Regions from separate parts of the Homo sapiens genome. Here regions 2, 3 and 4 are each linked to region 1. Evidence: promoter capture Hi-C in 16 types of primary human blood cells and fetal thymus (Javierre and others, 2016). All regions are on one chromosome and are shown on one strand. Each heading gives the region's core, a stretch centred on a gene start or on the middle of the fragment in contact. The rest is flanking DNA. Distances are from core to core; before and after follow the strand shown.

Region 1 (4,178 bases), core at 620-3,119:
CATCAGCTTCCTAGGGCTGCCGTTACAAAGTACCACAAACTGGATGGCTGAGAACAACAGAAATTTATCTTCTGACAGTTCTGGAGGCTGGACTTCTGAAATCAAGGTGTCAGCAGCGCCACCACACTCCCTCTGAAGGCTGTAGGGAAGCACCCTTCCTTGCCTCTTCCTAACACTCAGTGGTTGCCAGCATGGTTGCCAACAATCTTTGGTGCTCCTGACTTTGTAGCTGCATCACTCCAATTTCTGTCTCCGTCTTCCCATGGTATTCTCCCTGTATGTCTCTATGTCTAAATTCCCCTCTTCTTATAAGGACACCAGTCATTGGATTAGGGCCCACCTTAAACCAGTTATCATTTTAATTTGATTATATCTGCAAAGATACTACTTCCAAATAAGATCACATTCACAGGTACCAGGGAATTAGAGCTTGAACACATCTTTTTGGAGGACAAAATCCAACCCACCATCTGTTCTCCCACCGCATCTGAGCCCAACATAAACACTGACATAGTAATATAATTATTTCCAGCTCTGTCACCCACCAATAACTTCTCATTTATCTTTGTATCCTAAGTCTCTGGCATACAGTAGTTCCTCAATAAAAGTTGAACAATCTGTAAAATGCTTCCTTCCCTTAGTCCGTTTCCATTTCAGACTTCCTTTTTTTTCACTACATCACAATTTTCTAACACATTCACACATAAACGTGATCATGATTTGGTAGTTTCTGATCATGTGTAGTACTGAGACACTACTTTTCATCTGTTTTCGGCATTGGCTTCAAATGGATATATAACACAGTCGACACTCTCCAAGTAAACCATGTTTACTAAACTGATATTAAGTATAAAAGTCAGCCAGAAATAACGATAAAATGTCTGCTGCTAACAGCTCACATACTCGGATAAATTCATAGTGAACAGAGGCGTACTCGTATATATACTATCTACATGTTTATAGCAGATGTTAACTGGGGATATCTTTGGGTGCAAATTTCAAGGATGATATAAAAGCCAATATAAAAACAAGTCATGCTACTCTATTCGACAGATTAGAAATGGAATGTTTTCCTACCAAAATACAGGAAGCCTTGCAAAAAACCTTTTCCGTCTCGCATTGCTCTGAAGCCATACAGATAAGGGACGCGGTGTTTTTACCAACTGCCCCATGCAAAAAACACATACTACACACACACTGGTTTCTTCTCTGTCCATAAACAGAGAAAACACCGAAGAAAGCAGTATTAAAATTACACGTAATCTACTCTCCACGACTGCGAGAAACACCGTCTTTCTGGGTGCTTTCCATTGACACCCGCCCGCGGTCAACTCTGCCCAGTTGGAAAAATCATTAGGAAAAAGAGGATTAAGTTTCCCAATGCTAAGAACGCTGGAGACAAAGGGTCCTTTGTGGCAAATAGGAAACTGCGGAGGGGCAGAAAACCAGAAGAAAGGCGTTAGGGTGGCGTCAAGAAGTGGAAACCTTGTTTAAAAACTCAGGAGAGGTGGAGGGCGCCGCTCTCGCCGAGGGCTCAGGCTGGGGAGGGGTCTGGTGCCGCCACTGGAGAGCAGGAAGGCCAGCGGCCTTGCAAAAAGGGCCAAGGCTCCCCCGAAACGCCGCTCCACCCACACCCCAAGGGACGAAGGGAGCGGTCGATCGCCTCCCGAACCGGAGAGGCGGGAAGGGTGGTGAGGCCGTTCCCCAACGGCGCGCGGAAGGCGCAGCCCCAGGCTTGACCGGAACGGAGGTGGCAACCCCACCACACGACAAGCGAGCCGGGGACCGCGATGTACCTTTAACGCCCGCCATGTCTCCCGAACTGGGGCCGCGGCTGCTTCCGGCTTCCTGCCACGGCCCGGGCAGCCTGCCCAAGCCAGACCGGGAGTCGCCCCGCGGATCCCGAGCCCGCCCCGGCCACGCAGAGCCCCGCCCCCGCCGGTGCAGAACTCCGACCTTAGCTCGCAAACGCGGCGCCTGCTGCTCCAGACCCCGCCCCCACCACTCACAACCCCGCCCCCGCCGGTGCAGAACCCCGCCCCCAGCTCGCAGAGGCCGCGCCTGATAGTTCAGACCCGGCCTCGCTACTCAGAGCCCCGCCCCTGACAGTACAGAGCTCCTCCCCTACCTCGCGGAGGCAGCGCCTGCGGCTCCAGACCTCGCTACCGCTACTCGAAGCCCCGCCCCAGACAATGCAGAGCTCCTCCCCTAGCTCGCGGAGGCCTCCCCTGCTGGTCCCGCCCCAGCCCTCACCGGCCCAGAATTCCGCCCCCAACTCTCAGAGGCCGTCCCTGCTGGTCCCGACCCCGCCCCCGCCACCCAGAACTCCGCTCCTGCCAGTCTAGAACTCCGCCCCCAGCTCGCAGAGTCCATCTCCAGCCCTAAGGTCCCACCTGGTCCCACAGAGCTTTCCCAGAGTAACCCCAACCCAGTGCCCTGGGCCCTCCTCCTAGATCCTGAGCCCTCCAAGTAATCCTCAAGCCCGTTCAATGTGGGTTGGGACCTTGGCTCCGCCCCGACCGCGGGCCCAGAGTCTCTCCCCGGCCTCTCAGAACGCAGTGCACGCAGCGGGGGATCCTCCCTGAGCCTTCCTGAGAACGGAGATGTAGAAAGTGGGGAGAGGCAGGAGAGGGAAGGAGGGGAAAAGTTGCAATCGATGGGAGAGGGACACCGACTCACTAACCAGTGTTATGTTCCCTGAGCTCCCAAGTGCGTGCTAGTGTGCGAGTGTGTGCCTGTCTGCCTTCACATGACTGTGGCAGAGGAGAGGCGGGGTACCAGAGGACAGGCCCCTTAGGAAACACTCCTCATTAAGAACTTGATATTTGCATAGGTTTGCTTTGCTTAATAGCAACGCTTTACTGAAACTAGCGGGGTTTTTCTTTACTCCCTGGTTTATTTATAGAGACGAAGACCATATAAGCTTTTGTGTCCGAAGCTTTCATGAACCTTAAAAAAAAAAATAAAAAAAAAAAGCTATTATTTTTGTGCCTTGGGGCCTCAAAGTTTGCAGGTAACCAAGGCCAGTTTTTAGATCTCTGAGAGCCATTGTGTACTTATCTTACAGGAATGGAGAGTTCTGTTTTGGCAAAAGCAATCTAGAAGATCATTGAAACAGTCTGGTCCAAATGCTTCAACTTACATTTAAGGAAAGAGGTGCAGAAAGGATAGGACTTGCCTGTCACACAGCTCTTTGGAGGAGGTTGGATTCTGGGCCACTTCCCCTCATTCTAGCTGAGATCCACTCTACCTGATGGTGCCGTCCCTCTTCTCTTGCTTTTTCTCCGTTTTCAAAAGGACTGAAAGACAAAGGAATCTGTGGAAACCTAGCTTCCCCTGGCTACCTGAGAAGTATAAATTCTCACCACCATCATGTTTCATGATCCTTGCTCAGTTTACTTTTTCAAAATTGCACATTGAGCATGTTACTGTTTCAAGAAATGTCTATTTGTTGATTCAGTGGAGTATTTTTCTAGCTGTCAGTTTATTTTTCTAGCTCCTCTCATTTCTCCTCATAGACGGATGGCACACTCACTGAAAACAGCATTGTAATACCTGACTCACTGCTGATGCTTGGAGATCCAATACTACAGTACAGCACTTTTTACTTTGGAGCCTTCAATCTACTCAAGAGCATTGGCAGTGTATGCCACTTTGGTTTAAGGATTATTTTGAGCTGAAGGCAATTAGGAAGAAGCAAATAGGTACACGGTACTAGAAAAGCACTCTGCCCTCCCTCTATTTGCCAAAAAGCAGGATATAAGTTTACGAAGGTGTACCTCCTTCCTGCTCTACCAGGAAAGACAAAGATTAATCACCAGAGACAATTTTAGACCCCTGTCAGCCTGGAGACAACACAAGAAAAATCTACATGATAAACCTTAGTATTTGGCCTTCATCTGCAACTAGTCTCCCATATATTTGTTTTCCGACAATTTGCTGCCCCTAGAGACTCAAGATCCTTTATCTTGTCATTTCTTTAAAAATTTATTGTTCCTTGGCTAATATGCTGTATAAACCCAAGTTCTAACCAAATCTTTGAGTTGCTTATCTCTGAGTATTCCCATGTTACCTATATGAACAACGCACGTGTTGATAAACTTGCTTTACTTTTGTTCATCTGTCTTTGGCCAGTCTAATGCACAAGGACCCAGCCGGAGAACCTAAGATAGGTAGAG
Region 2 (4,178 bases), core at 1,083-3,582, 920 kb before region 1:
AGTGACTTTCATACATCCCTTGAGGTAAAAGACAATGGAATGCTTCAAAACCTGCCTTGGGAATTGCCACTTCTAGATTAGCGATTTCTCAGGGCTGGGACAGCCTATTAATCTGGCAATTTTCAAGATCAACTCTAGGGCCTATCAAAAAAATAAAAGAAAGCTTTGGACTACATAGATCTATCCTTTCCTTCCCTGAAAGCATATATATTATTATCTGTTTTGATATTTCAGTAATCCCTAAGCTAGAGTATGCACCGGCAAATTGAGGAAAATTTGTAACAGGTTGGAGGTTTGCACACATAAACTATTAACTAAAACTATAAAAGATGAAAATAGTTTCATAACATAAAATAGACATAAATTTCATAGACAGCTATTTCTTATGCAATTTTATCCTATTAAAAAAGGTAGTTGGGCTTGTTATGTATTTTGTGTTTTCCATTATTAGCTATCATAATTTAGAAGAGATGGAGAGATGCTTTGAACAACAATGCACCTCAAGATGCATAGGTTTGTTAGGTTCACGGAAGGTTTATAGAGGCAGCTTCTACTGCAAACATGAAGTAGAGGGAGTGCTGGTTGCAGGTTTGCCTTACCAGTGACCTCAGCTAACCCAACGTCATAACAGCATGATATAGGAGCATCTGAGGATTCAACTGAGTCCGGAAATAAAATATGACATAGGAGCATCTGAGAATTCAACTGAGTCTGGAAATAAAATATGTACTGTAACTTAGTCTGAGAAACTTAGCAAGTCATTGAGTCTCTTAGAGACTAGAATTTTCTATCTTTGAAATGGGAAGATTAGGAATAACATATGTGAAGTGGCTGCCAAGGTGTCTGAGACCAAGTGTGTGCTCTTTCTTCCACAGGATTTGTACTTGAAGCTAGGTTTTATCTGTAAATTTCAAAATAATCTGAGCTCATGGTACCTTTCTCACTTTGGCTTTGCTTTTGGGTGGAAGTTTCAGTTGGTTCTTTGATACTTGAACACCTTCTTTTCATTGTTGACAGCAGCATATATAATTAATTACAGAATTCCCATAGCATGCTGCTGCAGGTGTGATGCACTACTATGTCACATAGATTATGTGACACATGAGTTACTCATAGAAGTTCAGACTCTCTGGTTGACATTTAGATTATTCACCAGTCTAAGGAGCGTAAACAAGAATTGCCAGAAAGATAGATGAAGCAAGTCAAATGAAAAGCACCATAACTCAAAATGGTCTTATGCTTAAGTTAAACCGTAAAAAAAGAGTCTATTTGGAGAAATCCAGCTGTTGGTAACTATCCATTCATGCTTCTTTGGTTTAGCCAATTTTCTCAAATTAAGACACTTTACAACTTTTTATCTATTGACTAAAAGCTGTGACTGACCACAGACTACCTGACATGAGGATAACTGCACCAAGTATGCATTTTGCTCAGATTTTCACAGTTAAGATCAATGTGGTAACACATATGAATTAATTGAATATGTGGCTCAGGTGAGAGGAGTGTCACCAATATGCCAGGAATGAAAAACATAACCAAATGATGGCAGATAATTAGGCTGCTATTCTCCAACAGATATGGAGAGTGGCTGAATTACAAACACATGTGCTCATAAATAGGCTCCCCAGAGAGTGTGGAATAGCCATTGCTAGTCTCCAAAGGGCTTAGATTCTTGTCCACAGGATGCAGACTTTTTGAGAGAATAGTAAGCCAAATATTGCAAAACTGAACCAAAAGCCAACCGAACAAACAAAAACCCCAACCAAAACCATGCTTCACATTTCTGCTCACAGGAAGAAAGCACTGGTCCCTGACAACTTTGTTCTTTGTTATCTGACTCTGGATGAAAGAGAAGGGTAGGAATAAGCTTTCCCTTTTTTCAGGGTACTTTGGGGGTCATTGGGAACCAGATGAGGGTTTCTCATGCAACCTAACAATTAGAAAGCTGGAATTAGGCATGGCAGGCCCCTACATGTAGCCATTGCCGCACAACAGGAAACAGGATTCCAGGGTTCTAATGGATTTATCACTAACAAATACTTGGTCTTGGACAAATTAGATTAAGTTTCTGAACCTCATGCAATTGATCAAAAAATATTTATTCTAATGCCTACCATGTGTCTACAGCTAGTGTAACTGCTGGGGCTTCACTAGTGAACATGGTAGACACAATTCATGTCTTCAGTAACTTTACAGTCTAATGAAAGATATCAGTAAAAACCAAGTTCCATGATCAAAACCAAAAACCATAAATTGTGATAGTAAATTGCAAAACCAACAAGCAGCTGAATTAGGGTAATAAAAGAAGGTCTTTCTAAGAGGTGATATCTAAACTGAGGTCTGAAAAACAAGACTTCGCTGATTTCTAGCTTTAAAATTCTGTGATGATATGTTTTGTTAACAAGTTATACGAGAATATAATAAATTGTGGATTTCCCTTTAACTTTTATTTTTAACTCAACTTTTGAGCAAAGAGAACAACTTTGCTCAACTTTTGAGCAAAGAGAACAAGATTTGATTCTATGTCTTGACATTTAGTAGGTAAAGGACTTGGACAAATCGGTTATCTTTCCCGAATCTCAGTTTCATATCTGAAAATGGGGATACAATAAGACCTTCCTCAGGGTGAGTGTCATACGAGAACACAGGTAAGAGCGCTGTGTATGCAGGAAGGGATGCTTCAAATATGTTTTATTACCATGCTACATTGGATCTAACAACACAAAAATAAGAAACAGCTATAACTCAAAGAGAATAACGCTATTTAATGCTCTATCCTGGTACCACAGGAAGCTTTGAGAGCACATAAACTTTAAGTGAAGAAATGGGCCTTAGAAATCTCTGCACTGTCTCATAACTAATGTTCCCTCGGGCAGATGCAGAGTTTTCTGGGAAATGAAGTCCTGGATCATGTGATTAGATTTGAAAAGCAGTGATTGGAAATTTCTGAATTTTTCCTAATCTCTATTCCTCCTTTATTAACTTTACGAAAAGGAGCTCATATTTTGCTCATTTTAACCCAATGTATTTAACTTTTTTAAAACAAAGAGAATCTACTCCTACCAAGGAGTTCATACTTTTGTTTATTTTTGACAAAGTTCTTCTATTTTAGCACTGTATTAAAGGCCCTAAAGAGTCTTGAAAAGCAGTATGTGACCTTTCTCAGTTTGCAAATTTTACTATGGCAGACAACATTAGACAATGACTTTATCTTAATACTTTAAATATGTAAAAGAAAAAATATAAATACAAAAGCATTTTTAATTAATTCCAGTAAGTTGAAGCAAATTCTCTGAAATTAAATGATACTGATTTTTAAATATTTAAAAAACAATACTAGCAAATGTTTACAAGATATTCTCAAGGACACTCCCATGCAATGCACAAGAAAGATGCAAATAAACTTTGCACAACCAGTTCCTGAGTGTTAAAATACAGCAGGAAAAAATTCACTGGTAGCTCTCCCTGACAAGAACACAAATAATATACTGAGCCTGGCCAAGAAAAACTACCCATTGCATTAGTAAACATATATGTATCTAAATCATCTGACTCACTTATAGAATGGAGCCAGCAATAGCAATAACAGCAGACAAGGCTACAGGCATTGGGGGGCACTGTGTCCTTTCAGCTTGCTAAATGGGTAGCATCTGGCAGGTTAAATTAATCCTTGTGGATTATGAGTGAGAGATCCAGAGTGGGAGTTGGAGTCCATTTCATTAGTGACCCATTAGAAGGTCCCTAGCTTCTCACCATCATACAAAAGTATACTGGAAATGCACATTGCCACTGGATAGTCTAAAAATGTTTCATAACTTTAAATTTCTGAAAATACAAAAAAAAAAATTCTATCTTTATTATTGTTCTGTGCCCACCAGTGAGGTCATTACCCATGCCAGCATTCTTTAAAAGCAGGATAATCTATTAAAAGTGCCATGTCAACAAATTTCTTAAATGATCAAGAAAACTGCAGACAGCTTTTTAAAATAAACCAAAAATCAACTACCACCAACTGACAAAAACTTTCTTTGCTTTTCACTTCCATCCTTACAATTAAACAGAAAGAAATCTATGCCTCCTTGGCATGTATTAGCCCGAATCCTGCAAGGAAAGTGGAGTCTCAAACATTCAAACTTGCAATCTGAGCAGACATAAATAAAATCCCAGATAACTAAAAT
Region 3 (4,178 bases), core at 1,679-4,178, 670 kb after region 1:
TAAAAATAATTATAAATATTATTCACTATAAAGTACTCACTATAAATACATTCCAAAACAAAGATATAACTATAAATATTCAATTCACAGTGGCATGAGGTACTTGGGGATCTAGGTAGTTTGATAAATGTGGAATAGAATCCAATGCAGGACTGGCCGGGCACGGTGGCTCACGCCTGTAATCCCAGCACTTTGGGAGGCCGAGGCGGGCAGATCACCTGAGGTCAGGCATTCGAGAGCAGCCTGGCCAACATGGTGAAACCCTGTCTCTACTAAAAACACAAAAATTAGCCGAGCGTGGTGGCACATGCCTGTAATCCCAGCTACTCGGGAGGCTGAGGCAGAAGAATCGCTTGAACCCAGGAGGTGGAGGTTGCAGTGAGCCGAGGTCACACCACTGCACTGCAGCCTGGGCGACAGAGTGAGAATCCGTCTCAAAAAACAAACAAACAAACAAAAAATCCAATGCAAGACTAATCAGAAATGAACAGAATCCAATGCGGGACTAATCAGAAATGAGACTGATGGCTGGGTGCAGTGGCTCACACTGTGGTCCCAGCACTTTGGGAGGCAAATGCAGGAGGATTGCTTGAGTCCAGGAGGTCAAGACCAGCCTAGGCAACATAGAGATACGATGTCTCTACAAAAAATTAAAAAAAAAAAAATTAGCCTGGCATGGTGGCTTATGCCTGTAGTCCCAGCTACTTTAGAGGGTGAGAGAATCGCTTCAGCCTGGAAGGTCAAGGCTGCAGTGAGCAGTGATCGTTCCACCGCACTCCAGTCCAGGTGACAGAGCAAGTCCCTGTCTCAAAACAATAAATAAAAACTAAAAAGGAATGAGACTGGAAACGTAGGCAGGGGCCAACACACAAAAAGCCTAAGAATCTTAGACTGCTGTCCTATCATTTCATGCTTTTCAAACTCATATCTGTGTACTCCATGGTAATACAGAAATACAGAGAATCAAAAGTCAAATATAGTACATTTTCCATAAGTGTCAAGTTTATGAAAAAAAATTGGGAGTTAAATGCTATTTTTGTGTTAAATCCAATGTTACTAATAGAATATAAAATTAATATAAAATTCTCAGACAGAACACAAAACTTCAAAGCAATTTCAGTCTTGCAACAGTCTAATTCAGATTCACTGTTCTTTACTGTTAAGGACAATTTGAGGAAAAGTTTGAGAGGACGTGCAGCCAAAGGCTGGTTTTTTATGAGCAGGAGAGTGACATGATCAGATTTGTGCTTCAGGAGTATCCCTCAAGGGAAGTAGCATGCAGAAGGAGCTAAAATGTAAGAAACAGGACAGTAATGAAGGTAGGTGACAAACCGAAAAGTTGTTAACAGTGAACAAGAGACGAAAAGGACTTGAACCAGAGCTGAGGCTGTGAAAACAAAGAGGGCCAGGAAGATTCCAGAAAGCTTAGGCAGACCAGACAGGGCTTGACTGAATGCACAGTAATTATTCAGTGAGAAAGCTTTTGAGAACTTAATATAAAGGTGTTCACTTTTTTTTAGAGCCGGTACTTCTATAAGGTATTTGATAAACATACCTCTAAAAGCTTCCAGTTAAAAATACTTTCAGTATGCCTTTTAATTATAGGAACTATAAAGTTGTGGGATGCTATTATAAATCTGCTATACCAAAAATAAAACAAAATTTGAGATTTATGAAAACTACATTTAATAAAGAAAACACTCATATATTTCAAATGTTAAGAAAAAATTATTGGGTTTCTACTAGTAAGTTATTGATCAGTATTTTCTAGAGACATAAATACACAGTTTGAGAACTAGAGTTATGAATGTCTTTGATCCTTAAAGTGATATTCTAAAATAAAGAAATGAGGCCAGGCACAGTGGCTCACACCTGTAATCTCAGCACTTTGGGAGGCCGAGGCGTGTGGGATCACCTGAGGTCAGGAGTTCAAGACCGGCCTGGTCAACATGGCAAAACCACATCTCTACTAAAAAATACAAAAATTAGCCAGGCATGGTGGCAGGCTTATGTAATCCCAGCTACTTGGGAGGCTGAGGCAGGGAGAATCACTTGGACCTGGGAGGCAGAGGTTGCAGTGAGCTGAGGTCGCGCCACTGCACTCCAGCCTGGATGACAGAGCGAGACTCTGTCTCAGAAAAAAAAAAAAAGAAAGAAAGAAATGAATGAATAAACACAGTCTCTTCTGGAAAAGAACAAGAACTTAGTATTTCAAAAATATCTGATTACTTAATAATTGAACAAAAGCCATATTAACCATTTCATAAGGGTAAATATGTAGTTTTAGCACAGGTGATTTTATGTAGGCCTTACTAGCAAAAAGACACAAAATAAAATAAAGTGAAACTTTCATCAGTAAGTTGACAGTAAAATATAGTCACTAAGAAAAAGCAGACATTATAATTAAGGGAAATTGTTAAAACAAAAAATACAAAAAAATTCATGCAGAACATATGAAAATATTAGTTTAAGTAGATGAAATCTCAAAAATACAAATCCCAGTGTAATTCTGAGAAAGCTTCTATCACTAATTAAAACTGCTCCTTTTATTAGACCCTTTGATATATTTTTCATGTCTATTGCGAAGGGAAATGAGAAAGATACCAACAGCAAAGCAAGAATAGACAGAACGTCTTCAATTTGGGGTCTAAATATATTTAGAATTAATGCAAGGAATTGTGATAACAAAAACAGCTGACATTCTACAAAGACATTGAGATACTTCTCTATTTCTCTCCTCCTAGACTGTCTATACAAAGAGCTGCTATTTTTTAAATTTGTTTTTTTAAAAAATGCCATCTGCTTCTTCCAAGCCTCCTCCTTCCTGAGCTCCCTTACAGTCCTCTATTTGTATGGGCAGGGGAGGCTGCTTCCAAGAAATCAGTCCATTGCAGGTGTCCTTAACAGGTAGTATCACAAAACATTACCTGACAGATGGGAAGTGGACCATGGCGGAATGGAAAGAGTTGAAAGACAGATGAGATAAACAATACTGACAGACACTGCATTTTGAAACAAAATAGCCCCCCATGCCTACGGGTTATAAGGTTATATGTTCATATTTATTGTGAATGGCTATGTAAGGTCTCATTACATAGTAATGGGGCATTGGTCTCATTATTTTATAAGTCACATGGAAGAACTGCCATGCAATTGTCAATAGCCAGCCCTCTTGCAATTTCATGCATCCGGTTACAGGAGGAACTACAAATCCGCAACTACCAGGACAGCCCACCACACTCGGAGCAGTATATAAATTCAGGTTATATGTGAAACATGTGTGAACATCCAGACAGCTAAGAAATCCTGAAGAATCAAAGAAATGATTTCAAGCTTTTGATAAAACAAAAATATATATGCATAGGAAAAGAGAAAAGAACAACATCCCAGGATAACAATGGTTATCTTCAGGTATCAGAAATATGGGTAATTTCTGTGTCCCCTTTGTGCTTCTCTGTCTTTCCTAGCTCTCCTACAATGAGCATGCAGCTTTTGAAATCAGGGGAAAAAAAAAGTTAAATAGATGCAGAGTTTCTAATCTTAAAAGCAACAGTTAATCTGGATTAAATACACAGAGTAGCTATCTTTAAACCTCATCCAAGTCACTGAGAACAAACCCTCCAGTACTGTACTTGGCGTAGCAGGAGGCGGCTGCAAGGCTCCAAGGAGCGCAGCAATAACTCTATTCTGGGGCCTTAGCAAACTGAGAAGACAGAGTTGTTTCATAGAAACTTGGGCAAGTGCTTCTGCAACAACAGCGAAACTCACTCCCAGCTCTCTCGTGCCCCTGCCCCCTATGGCACTCCCGAGCACCGGGGACTATACGTTGGAGCCCTCGCCCCTGCCAAGGTGCTCCCGAAGCTTCGGCCCCCTCTACCCCCGCTCCCCCCCGCAAAATGTGTGCTCCACAACTCACCTCCACTCTCCTTCACCTCCTACTCCTCTACGGCCGTAGGGGAAGGAAAGACCGGGCCGAACTTGGAGGCAGCAGCCCCTGATTCCCGTGACCTTGGAGAAGCCGCTTCGCCACTCAGAGCCTCAGTTTCCCAATCTGCCCCCCTCCCTGGCAGGGCGTCTGCAGGCTAGAAACCCCAAGAACTCAGTCAAACCGAGGGGCCGCTCTCACCACTCGGCGCCGACCCACTCCCCAGGACCGCTCTGAGGCGCCCCCGATCCCA
Region 4 (4,178 bases), core at 580-3,079, 550 kb after region 1:
TTGATCTTCGTTGTTTTAATGACTTTGTAACAATTCATTTATTCAACAAATATTGACTGGATGTCTGCGTACTATTTGCCTCAGGCACTTGTACCTGCTAAGATGCTGGAGATGCTGGAGTGAACAAGACAGACATGGCCTCTGCATGCATCAGATGTACATCAAGTTAGAAAACAAGCAAATAAAATGATACATAGATAATACGTAAGAAATTATGGAAAGTACTGTGAAAGCAGAAGCTTGCAATAGAGAATATGGACAGGGGGGTTTGAATGGGAAGACCTAATTTAAATCATATGATCAGAGAAGGTCTCTCTAAGGAGGTAACATTTATAATGAATCCTGAAGAATAAAAAGGAATCTGCAATTCTAAGAGAGGGGTGGGGGACTATTTCTTCCATGTAGAGTGTCTCAGCAGCAGCACTACTGACCTTTTGGCCCAGATGATTCTTTGCTGTGATGGCCTGCCCTATGCATTGTAGGGTATTTACCAGCATCCCTGCCTCCACCCAGTAGATGCCAGTAGCACTCTCTCCTTAGCAGTGATGACCAAAAATGTCTTCAATATTGCCGACTCTCCTCTCAGCCTCAGTTGAAAAGATCTGATGTAGAGGGAACAGAATGGGGGAAGGCCCTGAGGGCCAGTAGAGCTGCAAGGAGAGACCATGTGGCTGCAGACCAGAGGAGGGTGATGGGGAACGAGGCTGGAGAGGCAGGTGGGGGCAGATTGCATACACAGAGCCTTGTAGGAGCTGGCAAGGGGTTATGCTTTAACCCTGAGTGTGGTGGGAAGCCATTTGGAAGGCTTCATTTTATGTATGTTTCAAGTCGATGATTCTTGTTACACGTGGAAAGCAGATTGTGCTGGGTCCAAGAGTACACTCGAAACATACAAGCTGAGAGTCTGCAGCAATGATCCTGGGAGAGAAAATGCTGGTTTGGCCTAGTGTAGCAACAGTGGCAGTGGAGCAAAATGAGTAGATCTGCTGTTCATCTTGAAGATAGAATTGATAGGATTTGCTGTTGAGTTGGATGTGGAAGCTGAGAGAATTTGAGGAATCAAAGATGATGACTGGGTTTCTGTTTTGGGTGATGTCGGATGGATAATGGAGTCATTCCCCACACAGGGAAGGTCTTGGGGGAAGAGGGTGGGGAAGGGGCAGAAATCAGGAGTCCTTTTTCGGAGATGCCTGTGAAACATACAAGTGGAGATTTCAAGTAGGAAATTGAGTAATGAGGCTGGAGTCCAGAGGAAAAGCCGTCATTTATTTAACTTAGTCACCCGTTCCTGGACATTTTCTGTTTTTCTCGTTTTCCCTTTTATGCTATTACTTTATAGTCTGTTGTGAACAACTGCATACGTAGGTGGTCCTGTACACGTTCTGTTTATTATTACCTTAGAGTATACCATTATGTGTGAGATCACACACGTATCAGTATATCTGTGTCAGAGTTATGTCCCACTGTAGGGCTTTAGTTACTAATTGTCCATTATCTCCATTCCATCTATGCCTTAGAACTGCCATAGAGACAACAGAGAAAGGGGACAGTGCACAGCCCCAGGCAGATACTGTGTGGAAAAAAAGAAAATGAACTGGCCATTTTTAGATGGTCTTTTTGGATTCAGCTTCCCAGTTTTGTGTATCCATAGCTGAGATTTATTCTTTACCTTTCCCGGGAGCAGAGGTGTAAAGGAAGAGTGTGCCATACTTGAAGAATAAGCATGGCGTTAGATTGACCTTTTGGAGGCTCAGGAATAAGTGACTTGAGGTAGCTGTACAGTGAATGTTTACAAAAAAACCACAGGCCAACAGGACAGTTTCAGGTTTTCCTTTGCTCTTCACACATTACTGGCATAGATCATTGTTCCTCAGAAGTTTTTGGAATGTCAGTGACCTTTCCTCACCTGAGAGAAACAAGATATCCCATGGTGAAAAGAAGAGAAACGGGAGCAGTGGGAGCCCTCCATCCAAAAACCATTAATCTGAAGTTCTTCAGGGAAAGAGAGCATCTCACATATGCAGGAACACTTCTCCCAGGCTTTGTGCCTGCCCTGCTCCAAGCTGGAGAAAGGCTTAAGAGTTCACACTTTAGTGTTCTATGTACTTTAAGTCATTTGATGAAAACCGAATGTGGCTGTAGCACGGCATTGAACAGTGGTCCTGGCCAGGTCTAGATTTAATCCCAGCCTACCACTTGCTAAGCCCTGGGCCCCCAGGGTACTCAATTCTTCTACTTGACTTGGGGTTTTATAACTGCCTGACGTTAGATACTCCTAGTCATTTATTCTTTTCTTTCTCCTTAGAGTGGAATCTCCAGGAGATCAGGAACGTGGTTTAGTTTATTGCTGTTTCCCTAGCACCTAGAATAACATCTAGCCCATAATTAGTTCTCAATAATTACCAAATGAAGGAGTGACTGAATAGGGGCTGTTTACTGTTTTGTGCCTTAGATTCCTCATCTGTTGGAGATGACGATGTTAACATCCACGTTGTAAGGTGTTATGAGGACTAAATAAAGGAGCCAAGCACTGTGTGGCAGCACTGAGGCAGGGTTTAATCAGTGGGAGCCGGCACTGGAATTATCGTTTTCACTCTGTACAAAGCTGGGCTGGGCACTGCTGGTTAGCCTTGTTTTAGTTTTTGTGTTTAAAGTTCCCGTTAGTTCTTAGAATGCTGTGCACCTCCATCAGTGGGGGGGTATATTTTGGTGACACATTTCACTATGGGAAACTCGAACGGTAGATGTGGGAAAATGTACATGTGGTGATGATGCACTGCGGAACGTTCCCCTTTCCCTAGAGCTACACCAGAATGGAGGGAGAGCCCCATCAACTCTGTACACCCAGCTCCTAGACAAGGCCATCTAAGCATGTTTGTGGAATTCATGCATGATCAGACCTCAGCCCAGTGTCACCTTCCCTTGCTCTGGCGCAGTCCAGGCCTAGTACACAGTGTTTGTCAGCGTCACTTCTATGGCGAAGGGACTTCGTATGTCTGTACTGTTCCCCAGTGCCTGGCATAGTGCTCAGTCAATGTTTTGTTAAATGAATGAGCGGGGGAGAACATCTCCTGAGCCCCTTCACACCCAACTCTGTTTAAAAGAGCTCTGATGCTAGAGAAACTGCCAATCTGATTCGTCTCGTTGCTGTGCTGCGTTTCTAGGCGGCCCCTCCCTGTGTAGTAGCCTTCTTGTCAAGATCAAAAACGGGTGGGCTCTCATGGTTTCTCCCCCTTGCTCCTAGGGACAGTATGATTTGGTGAAATGCCTGGCTCCTATTCGAGACCCCAAGACCGAGCAGGATGGACATGATATTGAGAACGAGTGTCTAGGGATGGCTGTCCTGGCCATCTCACACTATGCCATGATGAAGAAGATGCAGTTGCCAGAACTGCCCAAGGACATCAGGTAAAGCTTCCCACTGGCTGAAGAATTGATTGTGAGGATGGTGGTGTTTCTACATGTTCTTACACATTTCAGCTTAATTACTGCCAGGGTTTGGCTGACCTTTGCTCTCTATGAAACCCAGATCTTCCTTAGAATGTTTACTACATACACGTAGCCTAATTATAATTGTGTCTTGATTTTGGATGTTGGCTGCTAATCTCAGAAATTTGTGCTTGGGTGAAATTTCTGAGCTGAGGATGCCAATAAAATTAGTGGCCCCCAGGCCTTCTCCGTCCCCTCCTTGCCCATGGTGGACACTGTCGTCTATCACTGCATTTTTTCCTTTTGTTTTGGACCCATCTTAAAAATCCTTCTCAGTACAGTTCTGTAAGCAGCTACTACCATCCCAAGCCTGAACTCTGAACACGTTACAGTAGTTCACTACAGAGCTGTTAATTCTAATGTGAGAATTGATCAACTACTATTAAATATCTCAAGAAAATTGCATTTACTTAAAAATATCGTTTGAGATCAAGTCTCTGTGAAGGAATATTTAAGTTCTGTCCATCTATGACATCCAATAGTTTTTTTTCACCAGTGGGCTATTAGGATGGTCATAAATGAAGACAGTCTCATTTTGAAGAAGGGATTTCGTAGCTGCATTGTTTGTGATAGGCGGCGTGCGTCTTCTCATTAGGTTGCTGCTTGTTTCTCCTTGCGCTTGACCAGAGTCTAGAGCAGATCACAGCTTGCTCCTCAGTGATGCAGGGATTGAGTCGATACTGCTCAAC

What was found. Contacts are between HindIII fragments. The CHiCAGO score rates a contact against its expected background, and 5 or more counts as called.
Region 2: a contact is called between a fragment that was not itself captured here and the fragment with the promoter of LEPR in region 1, in 1 of 17 cell types (non-activated CD4 T cells). The highest score is 6.0, in non-activated CD4 T cells.
Region 3: a contact is called between a fragment that was not itself captured here and the fragment with the promoter of LEPR in region 1, in 1 of 17 cell types (total CD8 T cells). The highest score is 6.2, in total CD8 T cells.
Region 4: a fragment that was not itself captured here is called in contact with the fragment with the promoter of LEPR in region 1 in 1 of 17 cell types (monocytes); the score reaches 5.4 in monocytes.

What each region holds. Positions count from the first base shown.
Region 1 is chr1:65,418,359-65,422,536 of GRCh38, reverse strand. It overlaps LEPR (leptin receptor), which reads right to left and starts at 1,869. Exons shown (of 20, transcript NM_002303.6): 1 at 1,797-1,869. It overlaps LEPROT (leptin receptor overlapping transcript), which reads right to left and starts at 1,869. Exons shown (of 4, transcript NM_017526.5): 1 at 1,797-1,869. The coding sequence starts at 1,812. RefSeq lists enhancers at 1,366-1,415, 1,489-2,022, 2,023-2,555 and silencers at 1,786-2,285, 2,306-2,375. The HindIII fragment of the contact is 9,332 bases long and covers 1-2,925 here.
Region 2 is chr1:66,343,528-66,347,705 of GRCh38, reverse strand. All of the region lies in intron 8 of PDE4B (phosphodiesterase 4B), which reads right to left. Among named protein-coding and RNA genes, the nearest start is that of SGIP1, 190 kb to the left of the region's middle. The HindIII fragment of the contact is 926 bases long and covers 1,870-2,795 here.
Region 3 is chr1:64,745,487-64,749,664 of GRCh38, reverse strand. All of the region lies in intron 1 of RAVER2 (ribonucleoprotein, PTB binding 2), which reads right to left. Among named protein-coding and RNA genes, the nearest start is that of RAVER2, 2.5 kb to the right of the region's middle. The HindIII fragment of the contact is 815 bases long and covers 2,521-3,335 here.
Region 4 is chr1:64,868,541-64,872,718 of GRCh38, reverse strand. JAK1 (Janus kinase 1) reads left to right here. Exons shown (of 25, transcript NM_002227.4): 6 at 3,245-3,408. Among named protein-coding and RNA genes, the nearest start is that of JAK1, 96 kb to the left of the region's middle. The HindIII fragment of the contact is 3,175 bases long and covers 242-3,416 here.